Regions from separate parts of the Homo sapiens genome. Here region 1 is linked to region 2. The links are contacts of gene promoters, found by promoter capture Hi-C in blood cells and fetal thymus (Javierre and others, 2016). All regions are on one chromosome and are shown on one strand. Each heading gives the region's core, a stretch centred on a gene start or on the middle of the fragment in contact. The rest is flanking DNA. Distances are from core to core; before and after follow the strand shown.

Region 1 (5,114 bases), core at 1,949-4,448, 260 kb before region 2:
ACGTTTACTCTGTCACTACACAATTTTGAGTGTGTTTGTTTAGTGTTTCTAAGCTTATTTTAAAATTTACAGTCAGTAAAAGTATTTTTACTTGGCCTTTTCCTAATTGCAGGTATGTATCTCTACGAGTTAGGAAATATTGCTCAATTTGGTTACCTAAAATAAATAATTTGTGGTCATTCGAATTCTTTTTTTTTTTTTGAGACGGAGTTTTGCTCTTGTTGCCCAGGCTGGAGTGCAATGGCGCCATCTCGGCTCACCGCTACCTCCGCCTCCTGGGTTCAAGCAGTTCTCCTTCCTCAGCCTCCCGAGTAGCTGGGATTACAGGCATGCACCACCACGCCTGGCTAATTTTGTATTTTTAGTAGAGACAGGTTTCTCCCGGTTGGTCAGGCTGGTTTCGAACTCCTGGCCTCAGGTGATCTGCCCGCCTTGGCCTCCCAAAGTGCTGGGATTACAGGCGTGAGCCACCATGCCCGGCCTCTACTTTTTATTTCTTATGCAAGTCCAGTATAGAGAAGTTTATGACAGTGAAGTTTAAATTGTAATAAAATGATACAATTTAAATTTTTAGTAGCGAGTTTTGCTCATTTTGTATTTTACATTAAGAATGGCATTCAATTTTGTGTAGTCATGACATGGTCTGAAGTTGACTGTTGCTTTAAGGCAACTTTTTTTTTTAAATTTCAGAATTCTGGAATTGAAAAGGCATTTCTATTTGATGTGGTCAGTAAAATTTATATTGCAACTGATAGTACTCCGGTGGATATGCAAACCTATGAGCTCTGCTGTGATATGATAGATGTGGTTATTGACATCTCTTGTATTTATGGGTAAGTACAACATTCTTAAAGGCCACAATCAAGCCATCCTTCCTTCATAACCTTTCAGGCATTTTGCATTTACATTTACTTACTTAACTTTAACATTTTTGTCTTAAATGACTGAAATCTATAAATAAATATACCAGTTAGCATGCAATAATAACAGTTATTGAGCAAATGCCACGCATTATGCTAATCTCATTGCATGCTTCCTATTATTTATTTCAATTTTTTAGCAATAGGGTGTCCCTGTGTTGTCCAGGATAGATCACTCCTGGGCTCAAATGATCCTCTCACCTCAGCCTCTCGAGTAGCTGGGATTATAGGCATGAGCCACTGTGCCCAGGTTATCATTTAATTCTCAACTATTCGATGTGGCAGGAATTACATTTGACCCTTGAACAACACAGGGGTTGGGGTACCAACCCTTTGAACAGTCAAAAAGCCACATATATTTCCCCCCTGACAAACTTAACTATTAATACTAATAGTCTACTGTTGACTGGAAGCCTTACCAATAACATGAATGATTGATTAACACACATTTTGTATGTTATGTATTACGCACTGTATTCTTAACAATAAAGTGAGCTACAGAGAAGAAATTATAAGAAAGAATATATTTACTATTTATTAAATGGAAGTGGGTCATCATAAAGGTCTTTACCCTCATTGTCTTCACATTGAGTAGGCTGAGGAGGAGGAAGAGAAGGGGTTGATTTTGCTGTCTTAGGAGTGGCAGAAGCGGAAGAAAATCCATGTATAAGTGGACCTAGGCAGTTCAAATCTGTGTTGTTTAAGGTCAACTGTAGTGTATTCACTTTACAGATGAAAAAACTGAGGTTCAGAGTGGTTACATTTCTTACTCTTGCTCACACTATCAGTAAGGATTGGAACTGGAGTTTCAACTCAGATCTGATTCCTGATCCTCTGCTGAAAAAAATCTGTTAACATACCGTTCTTAGAAAACAGAGCTTCCTATACACTTAATATAAAATAAACAAGGAGTGGGGGAAACTGATTATGTTACCCGATGTAGAAACAATTCTACATAATTATAAATGTGCTGAACAGGTGGTGTACAGACTGACTAGGTGTGAACTAGTTGTTCATCTTATTAAGATGTTAAGGTGTTGCTATCTGTATTGTATCTGACATCCTCATCTAATCGATGAGGTAAAGCTTTTGCTCATCTTCCTCTTTACTCACTGCCTGTGACCTGCCTTACACAGCTTGACGCTCTGCCTTTCAGCTTTTGTGAGAGTCTAGTCTCCATTTTTCTCTTCCATTGCTTAAAAATCCTTTGCCCACTCAGCTCGGATTCTCTCTGTTAACTGTTAGACACACACACACACACACACACACACACACACACACACCACACACACATGGAAAGTGATACTTACAAGATTGTATTGAGGATGAAATATCATTAGGCTCATAACGTGCCTTTACCTGGTAGACTCTGGATAAATGTAGCTGCCATAATTTATTATTACTGTTATAATTAAACGCTGACATCTGGCTTTAGAAATAAACCTTATTGCCCAAGATTACTGCCCTGAAGCATTCTATTATTTTTAAACCGTTTAAATGGATGACCTTGAAATAGTCATGGAAGATGAACGCACCCTGATTACAGTGCAGATTGCCATGGTAATCAAGTACAATGAACAACACAATTAATCTGGCACATGCTTAACAATGTGCATGATCATTATTGTGCCATATGGTCATTAGCTGTAAGTGGTAAGTTGTTCATGTAAATGATGTTAATCAGAGTTACTTTTACCCAGCTAAAACAAACATGGGGAGGGAGGGGTTAGGAGGAGGTGGCCTGGCTTTGCCGTCAGATTGGTTTTTCTGTGGTGGAGTACAGTGTTCTGAGAACCCACAGGATTCAGTAAGAACCAGTCTGGGTCACAGATGGTTTGTGGGCTCTGGGGTTTCCTCAGATTGTTTGCTGGAGCAGCAACAAGCCAGTCCTGTTAACCAGCAGGAGGCAGGGTTGTGTGCAGAGCCTGGGGCCCTCTTAGGCAATGAGGAAGCAGGTGCCCTTGTAACTGGAGGCCTTGCTGCCCCTCCCCACCTGCCCAGTGGAGACCAGCAGGCCCTAGAATCAGGTGACCTGGTGCCTCAGGAATCTCTCAGCTGAGGCTGTGCCCCAGCTGGCAGCTCTGTGCTCACTCATGCACACACATGCACACGCACATATATGCACACACACATGCACACACTTTAAAATATGTTCTATCTTCATGTGTTTTCATTGCTTATAGATGAAAAACTTGAGTAGTAAAACAGTTTTTGCAGTTGCAAACCTCATCAATTTCTACTTGTAATTTTTGGTGGAGTCTGTTTTTCTAATTTGTTTAATGTTTACCTTTTTCTGATTGTGAAAGTAATACATGCTTATTGCAGAAAATACATAAAAGTCTAAAGAATAAAATTAAAGTAGCCCATAATCTCACCACCTAGAGACAGTCAGTGTTTACATTTTATATAGTTTGTTCTTATTTCCATGTGTAATTTTTAGGATAATGAGATCACATTTGTATGTGAAATTTTTCATCCTGCTTTTTTCATTTAACATTACCACCTGATAATTTTCCTGTATTATTAAATGCTGTTAATAAACAGTGTTTAATATCTATATAGTATTATATTTACTTGGAAATTTTAAATGCTATTTTCTTCATTGGGTAAAACATGTTAAATGTTTCAGTTTCTTGTTCTCAGAACATTACTTATAAGCAAGAGAGATTGAGCCTTAAAATATAGTAGTTAAAACAGTGCAATGGAAGTTAATGAATTCTGTTAAAGCATCTTTAACATTTGATGTCCAGCACTTAAAAGGTTTTTCTTTAATGTTTTGGTAGGTTATAGTGAGTTGAATCCTTTAAAAAAAACAAAAAATACGAACTTCCACAATTTACTTTTTTTTTTTTTGAGATGGAGTTTCGCTCTTGTTGCCCAGGCTGGAGTGCAATGGCATGATCTCGGCTCACTGCAACCCCCGCCTCCCGGGTTCAAGTGATTCTCCTCCCTCAGCCTCCCGAGTAGCTGGGATTACAGGCATGCACTACCACGCCTAGCTAATTTTGTATTTTTAGTAGAGACGGAGTTTCTCCATGTTGGTCAGGCTGTTCTCGAACTCCCAACCTCAGGCGATCCACCTCGGCCTCCCAAAGTGCTGGGATTATAGGCCTGAGCCACCGTGCCCACCCTCACAATTTACTTTTAAGTGGCCATGTATATGGCAGCTTAAAATACTCTCAAAACTAAAAACCTACATTTCCTAAAAATACTCTTGTGCAATTCAGGCTTTTCATTAAATCTGGCTTGATACTGTACCCCCTTGTGTATTTACAGGATTAAAGCATTAACTTTGAAATTAGCCATATCTAGGTTTGAGGTCCTGACTTTACCCCTATCGTCAGCTTTGACCAAGTTATCTTATTTTCCCCTAGCCTCAGTTTCCTTAGAAACTTAGAGGATTCTTATAGCAGACAGAGGATAATGCATTTTAAGAACTAAGAATGGTTAATATCACATAGTAAGCTTTAATAAATGCTAGTTCTCAGTGAATGTGGTAAGGTTTAACACAATTCCAATTAAGTCAAATTTCTGGTCAGTTATTCATAAATTTGGGGAGTAAAAATAAATCAGAAAATTTATGTACAGTTTTAGGTAAGGGGGAAAAGGTTTAGGGAAGTGTCCTTTGCCTGTGAGGAAAGGATTCATAACACTTTTATTACACAGGTATCTTCAGAGGGTCCAGTTTCAGTCATTAAAGCCATGATAATAAGTGTGTATTTTATGTTCTCAGCATTATGCTTAGTGCTACATATGCATTATTTCATTTAATCTTCATTAGAAAACTTTGAAATAATTACTGTTAGTGTACATATGAGGAAATTGAGGCTCAAAGAAGTTATTCGACTTGTCCAAGCTCACATAGCTAGCAAATAAAAGAAATGAGATTCAAACCCAAGTCACTTGTGTCTGCACACCACACCTTTTCTTAAATAGACCTATATATCTTTTTTTTTTTTTTTTTTTGAGACGGAGTCCTGCTCTGTCACCCAGGCTAGAGTACAGTGGCACAATCTCGGCTCACGGCAACGTCTGCCTCCTGGGTTCAAGGGATTCTTCTGCCTCAGCCTCCCGAGTAGCTGGGACTACAGGTGTGCGCCACCACGTGGTGCCTGTCTAATTTTTGTATTTTTAGTAGAGATGGGGTTTCACCCATATTGGCCAGGCTGGTCTTGAACTCATGACCTCGTGATC
Region 2 (5,608 bases), core at 2,885-5,384:
GTGCAGGTAGGTAGAGATAAGAGGAAAGTCCTAAGTGTTTAGATTCTAAATGACAGTAAGTTATTGTCATATCAGCAATTTCCCCAAAGACAGGATTCAGGAGTAAACAACCAAACATTATAAATAGATTCACATGTGGCTCTATTTTAAACACAACATAGACTACTAATTTTAAAGACTTGTAAAACTGAAAAGAGATTCTGAATTTTTCTTGCAATACACTTTATAAAACCGTGATTCCAATGAAAAAGTTTAAAATGTATTTACTTTTGAAAAGTCAGGTGATGATATCTAAATGAGATATGACACAGGTTTTCCTAAAATATTTTCAAATCAAAGTCTCTCTTAGGTGAAAACTTAAAAAGCATTTAATTGATCATAATTTTTTAAATGTATTAAATAAAAAGTAATGGAAGCAACAGTTACTTCGAAGAACAATATATGAAACTCTCATGTAAAAATGAGGCTTTTGTTATGGGAACAGTTGTCAGATTTGCCAGTGGTATACTCCTTGGGAATCCTCAGGCAATTTAAGAAAAACATTAACTCTCCTAAGCCTGGAGGGTACCATTTGGTGCCTTAAAGCAATGATTCAATAAAGCAATACTTTTGTTAAATGGCACTTAAGTTCTAGAACAAAGGGTAAATATGAATATGTTTATGAGTCCAGGGACAGGCAGGGTGTTTACTCTTGACCTAAGCCTTTCCCCTACCTCTTCAAGTATCCTAATCTGCCAAAGGGAAGACAAAATACAGCTTCATCAGTTACTCATCTCAACTGGTTTAAGGACCAGGGCAAGACACTGGCCAAGCTGACTGTAACATTCCTTAGTTGGCCGTGCCCGACGATGTTCTCTCCTTAGGCCTTCCAACCAGAAAACAGCTTTCTTACACTTTACACTAGCTGCCTCAAATCATATCTGGAAAAAAGAACATACGTTTTTATGTAATATAAATAATTATGGCTCCACAACTTATTTTATATCAATTCCAGCTACCTTTTAAGTTCAAGTTGCTAAGAGAAACTCCTTACACAGTTGAAGACCCTTTCCTCAGGTATTTCCATCAAAAGGAACAGAAAAAACACCCCCTATCCATACATGCATGCTAAGTATTTTTGGATACTCCTACAAAAGCTTTTTTCAAACTGTAAAGAGCTTTGTGGTTTTTTTCTATATTTATAAAAAGCATTAAAAAAATCTGACAATACTAAAAGATAAGAAGAAAGCAAGTATCAGAGTATAATACCTATACCTGAATAGGTAAAAATAGAATAGAAAAATTCTATTTATACATGAACATACAGATAAATTTATTTATTTATTTACAGACAGGGTCTTGCTCTGTCACTCATGCTGGAATGCAGTGCACTGGCACAAACATAGTTCACTGCAGCCTCCAACTCCTGGGCTCAAGCAATCCTCTTGCCTCAGCCACCTGAGCAGCTAGGACTACAAGCATGTGCCACCATGGTTGGCTAATTTTTTTTTTTTTAATTTTCTGTAGAGATGGGGAGATTCTCTTATGTTGCCCAGCTGGTCACGAACTTCTAGCTTGGAGCAATCTTCCCAACTTGGCCTCCCACAGCACCAGGATACAGGCATGAGTCACCACGCCTGGCCAATATATTTTTAACTAAATAGGTTAATCGTTTACATGTCTCATGAATTGATTTTTCTCCACTTAACAGTATGTCAGGGATGAGTAATTGTGACTACCCACCAGGTCAAGTTTCTTTTCTTTGGTCAAGTTTTTTATTTGCAAAGTCAATGTAGTGGTTTGAATGGCGGCCCCCAAAAATACATGTCCAAGTCCTATCTCCAGGTATGTATCCTTATCTGGAAAAAGAATCTTTGCAGATGTAAGTGAGGATTTCAAGATGAGATCATTCTGAATTAACCAAGTGGGCCCTAAATCCAACGACAAATGTCCTTATAAGAGATAGAACTGGATAGGATAGATGGCTGATATCATTTGGCTCTGTCCCCACCCAAATTTCATCTTGAATTGTTAGCTCCCATAATTCCCACGTATTGTGGGAGGGACCTAGAGGGAGATAACTGAATCATGGGGGCAGTTCCCCATACTGTTCTCCTGGTAGTGAATAAGTCTCACGAGATCTGATGGTTTTATAAGGGGAAACCCCTTTCGCTTGGCTCTCATTCTCTGTCTGCCACCATGTAAGATGTGCCTTTTGCCCTACACCATGATTGTGAGGCCTCCCCAGTCTTGGGTATGTCTTTATCAGCAGTGTGAAAACGGACTAATACAGTGGCTCACACCTGTAATCTCAACTTTGGGAGGCCAAGGCAGGAGGATCACTTGAGCCTAAGAGTTTGAAATCAGCCTAGGCAACATAGACTCCATCTAAAATAAAAAGAGAGAGAGACAGAGAAAGAGAGAGAGAAAGACAGGAGGCCATGTGAAGACAGAAGTGGAGACTGGATCTATGTATCCACAGCCAAAACATGTGTGGGGCCACCAAAGACTGGAAGAAACAGAGGATTCCCCTAGAGTGCCTTCAGATAGATGATGGCCCTGCGGACACCTGGATTTCAGACTTCTGGCCTCTGAACTACAAGAGAATAAATTTCTGTTGTTTCGGGCCACCAAATCTGTGGTGCTTTGTCATGGCAGCCCTAGCCAACTAACACATGGTAAGCATTCTAAGCTTTTGTATTATGAATCCAGCCTGCTCTCCAGCCTCATTTTCCAACTCTTCTCCAGCCTCATGCTCCTGTTTTGCCTCATTTACTATATTGCCTCAAAGCCTTTGCACGTGCTGTTCCACTGCACTAATTACTCTTCTCCATTCTTTACCCATCTCTTCAAGACTTGTTCAGGGAACATAAGTGACCCTCTAGCCTTGCTCACCATCCCACAATGCCTGCTCTCAGCAGCATATAGTTCTTTTCATAGCCCTGTATTATAGTTTGTATCTTTACCAGTGTGATTGTTAGATTCTGCCTCCCTACCAAATTCTAAGCTCTAGGGGAATAGGCACGGTGCCAGTCTAGCCCTGTGCCTGCAGTGCCAGAGCAATCCCTTCTGAATGAAAGAATAGCCACCGTTCCAGTACAGCTGCAGACCCAGGAACCTCCACAGCCTCTGGGAGGGCTGTGAGCTAGAAGGGTGACCACGACATGTATTCTTCAAAGCCTACCACTTCTGCGAGCGAAAAGGGGCACTCTTCACACTTAGGAGTTGCCTGGTTACACTCCCAGCCCTGAATAACAGGCTGTGCCTGCCGGCCACAGGAGCAAGGCGAAGACGAGTCTAACTAGAAGGGGATGGGCTACAACATTTTGGGGGAATAGGGAGAGGGTAATTTAAATTTTGCTTAACTGTCCCTGCATTTAAACTGTTGTCTTCTACATCATGTATTCATTTGTACATTCGTTTGTCCCCCCTCTAGAATGTAAGCTCAGAGGGCGGGGCTTGGCCTGTTTGTTCATTGCTATATCCCACGCTAAGTGCCTGGCGCATAGTAGACGCTCAATAAACATCTGAATGAATGTACTCACAGCTGAGTGTTATGCCCCAAGTGAATAAAGGATGAAGAATCATATAATACTTAAAAATCCAACAGGCCAGGCGCGGTGGCTCACACCTGTAATCCCAGCACTTTGGAAGGCCGAGGCGGGAGAGGCTTGAGCCCAGGAGTTTGAGACCACCTGGGCAACACAGCGAGACCCCGTCTCTATTAAAAAAACAAATCCGAACAAAACCGAGACCTCACAGTTGGAAAGCCGAAGGCTCAAGACCAGAGGGGCAGGAGGCCTACCAACTGCCAAGGTCCTGCGCTCAGGACGATGCGCTGAGGGCCGCGGAGGCTGAGCGGGGGCGCGGTTGAAAGCGGCTCTCACTGACCCCACCTCCGCCCAGCCGCAGCCCCGCCACCACCTCTGGGTCCTCTAACCCCCGGCGTCCCCGCCGCGGCCTCAAGCCCCCTCTTGGCCTCCGCCCTCCTGACATACACTGGCCCTCGCCGCCCCCTCCCCAAATCCCGTCGCACTCCAGGACCCCCCATACCCGGATCCCATAGGGCCTGGGAACGGCCGCGCTCCTGTCTTCGGAATTCCCGCGGCCCCTGGGCCGCGCCGGCGCCGCCCCCGCCCCCGGCCCGTGCGTCCAGGCTGGCGCCGCGCTGCGCCCCCTCTGCGCCGGCCTCTGCGGCTGCGCGCTGGCGGGGCTGAGGCCGAGGGGTGGGGGTCGCGCCGGGGGCCGGCGGAGCTCCTGTGGTGGTAGCAGCGGTAGCGGGAGACGGAGCGAGTCCAGCGGCCGCGGGCAGACCCGGAGGGAACGGAGGAAGCGGTCATGTCTCGCTACACGAGGCCCCCCAACACCTCCCTGTTCATCAGGAACGTCGCGGACGCCACCAGGTGAACGGCCGCGGCTGCAGGTTGGGGGCGCGGAGGAGGGGCGGGGTAACAGCCGCGCCGCGGAGCACGGCCGAGGCCCGGCGGAGGCTCGGGGGAGCTGCGCGGAGCCTCCCCGCGGGCCCAGGCTGCGCCACTTGGGGAGGTGTGAGCCCTCGGACTACTCCGCGGCCCAGGGCGGAACTCGCGCCTCCGCCCTCCCGGCCAGCTTTCAGCCCCGGCGCCGCGCACATCGTGTCCCGGGCCCGCGTCGCTTTCCGCGGTTCAGCACCGCAGCCGGCGGGCCGTGGGACACGGGGCGCCCCTCTCCCGAGCTCAGGTCGCTCCCCGCCGGGAGTCGGGAGGGTTTGCGCTCCAGCGAGTGCCCGCGTTTCAGCTCCTTTGTCGCCGTGCCCCGATAAAATCGCGCGCATCCAACCCTCCTAGATGGAGAGGAATTGGGGCTGGTGAGAACGTTTTGTACCATAATGCGTACTCGGGCCTTACAGTTTCTTTCCCCCAGTTCTGGTCTACTTACAGACGGTGCTGCTTGCATTTTATTCACACAATTTTATTCTGCATACAAAAAATAACTTCAATGAATGAGATCAGTGCGTTTTTCTTTAAAGTTCTGAGTCCAGTATTAACACCCTTTTTAAGGGCGTGAGTATAGGCTCACCTGGTTGATTCTGATGCCCCACCCCTCCGTTGAGAATTTTGTCTACAGAGTGTCTGAACACAGATACTAAGGAATGACTTTTTCATATAGCACTTCCTTCCTTAATGGAGCTGAAGAAATTGGGGGCGGGGGGAGAGGGAACGGTGTTAATAGACATTCTCATTTCACTGGGCTTCATTTACTTCCCCCCAGCCTTTCTACCTATGCAGTACTGTTTTATTGTACATAAGGGAGAGCGGAAACTAAGAGTTTTAATGATTTACCTGGGGCCAGAGAGGTATAGATACATGGAGCTCTTGACTCCATAGTCATCTGAGATGAGTATTATAATTTACCTTTGAGGAGTAAATAAACGTTAAGTATTTTTTATTTTTTAGTTTTTTTTTTTTTTTTAGACAAAGTCTCGCTCTTGTCCCCCAGGCTGGAGTACAATGGCCCGATCTTGGTTGGCTGCAACCTCTGCCTCCCGGGTTCAAGCGATTCTCCTGCCTCAGCATCCAAAGTAGATGGGATTACAGGCGTGTGCCACCACACCCGGCTAATTTTTATATTTTTAGTAGAGATGAGGTTT

What was found. The method cuts DNA at HindIII sites, captures the fragments that hold promoters and counts their contacts. A CHiCAGO score of 5 or more calls a contact.
Region 1: a contact is called between a fragment that was not itself captured here and the fragment with the promoter of SRSF12 in region 2, in 1 of 17 cell types (naive CD8 T cells). The highest score is 5.4, in naive CD8 T cells.

Annotation. Positions count from the first base shown.
Region 1 is chr6:89,373,390-89,378,503 of GRCh38, reverse strand. RRAGD (Ras related GTP binding D) reads left to right here. Exons shown (of 7, transcript NM_021244.5): 5 at 691-833. Among named protein-coding and RNA genes, the nearest start is that of UBE2J1, 23 kb to the right of the region's middle. RefSeq lists enhancers at 2,406-2,906, 2,907-3,407. The HindIII fragment of the contact is 2,379 bases long and covers 2,009-4,387 here.
Region 2 is chr6:89,116,597-89,122,204 of GRCh38, reverse strand. SRSF12 (serine and arginine rich splicing factor 12) reads left to right here and starts at 4,134. Exons shown (of 5, transcript NM_080743.5): 1 at 4,134-4,382. The coding sequence starts at 4,318. It also overlaps a transcript of PM20D2 not described here. RefSeq lists a silencer at 4,281-4,550. The HindIII fragment of the contact is 10,924 bases long and covers 2,674-5,608 here.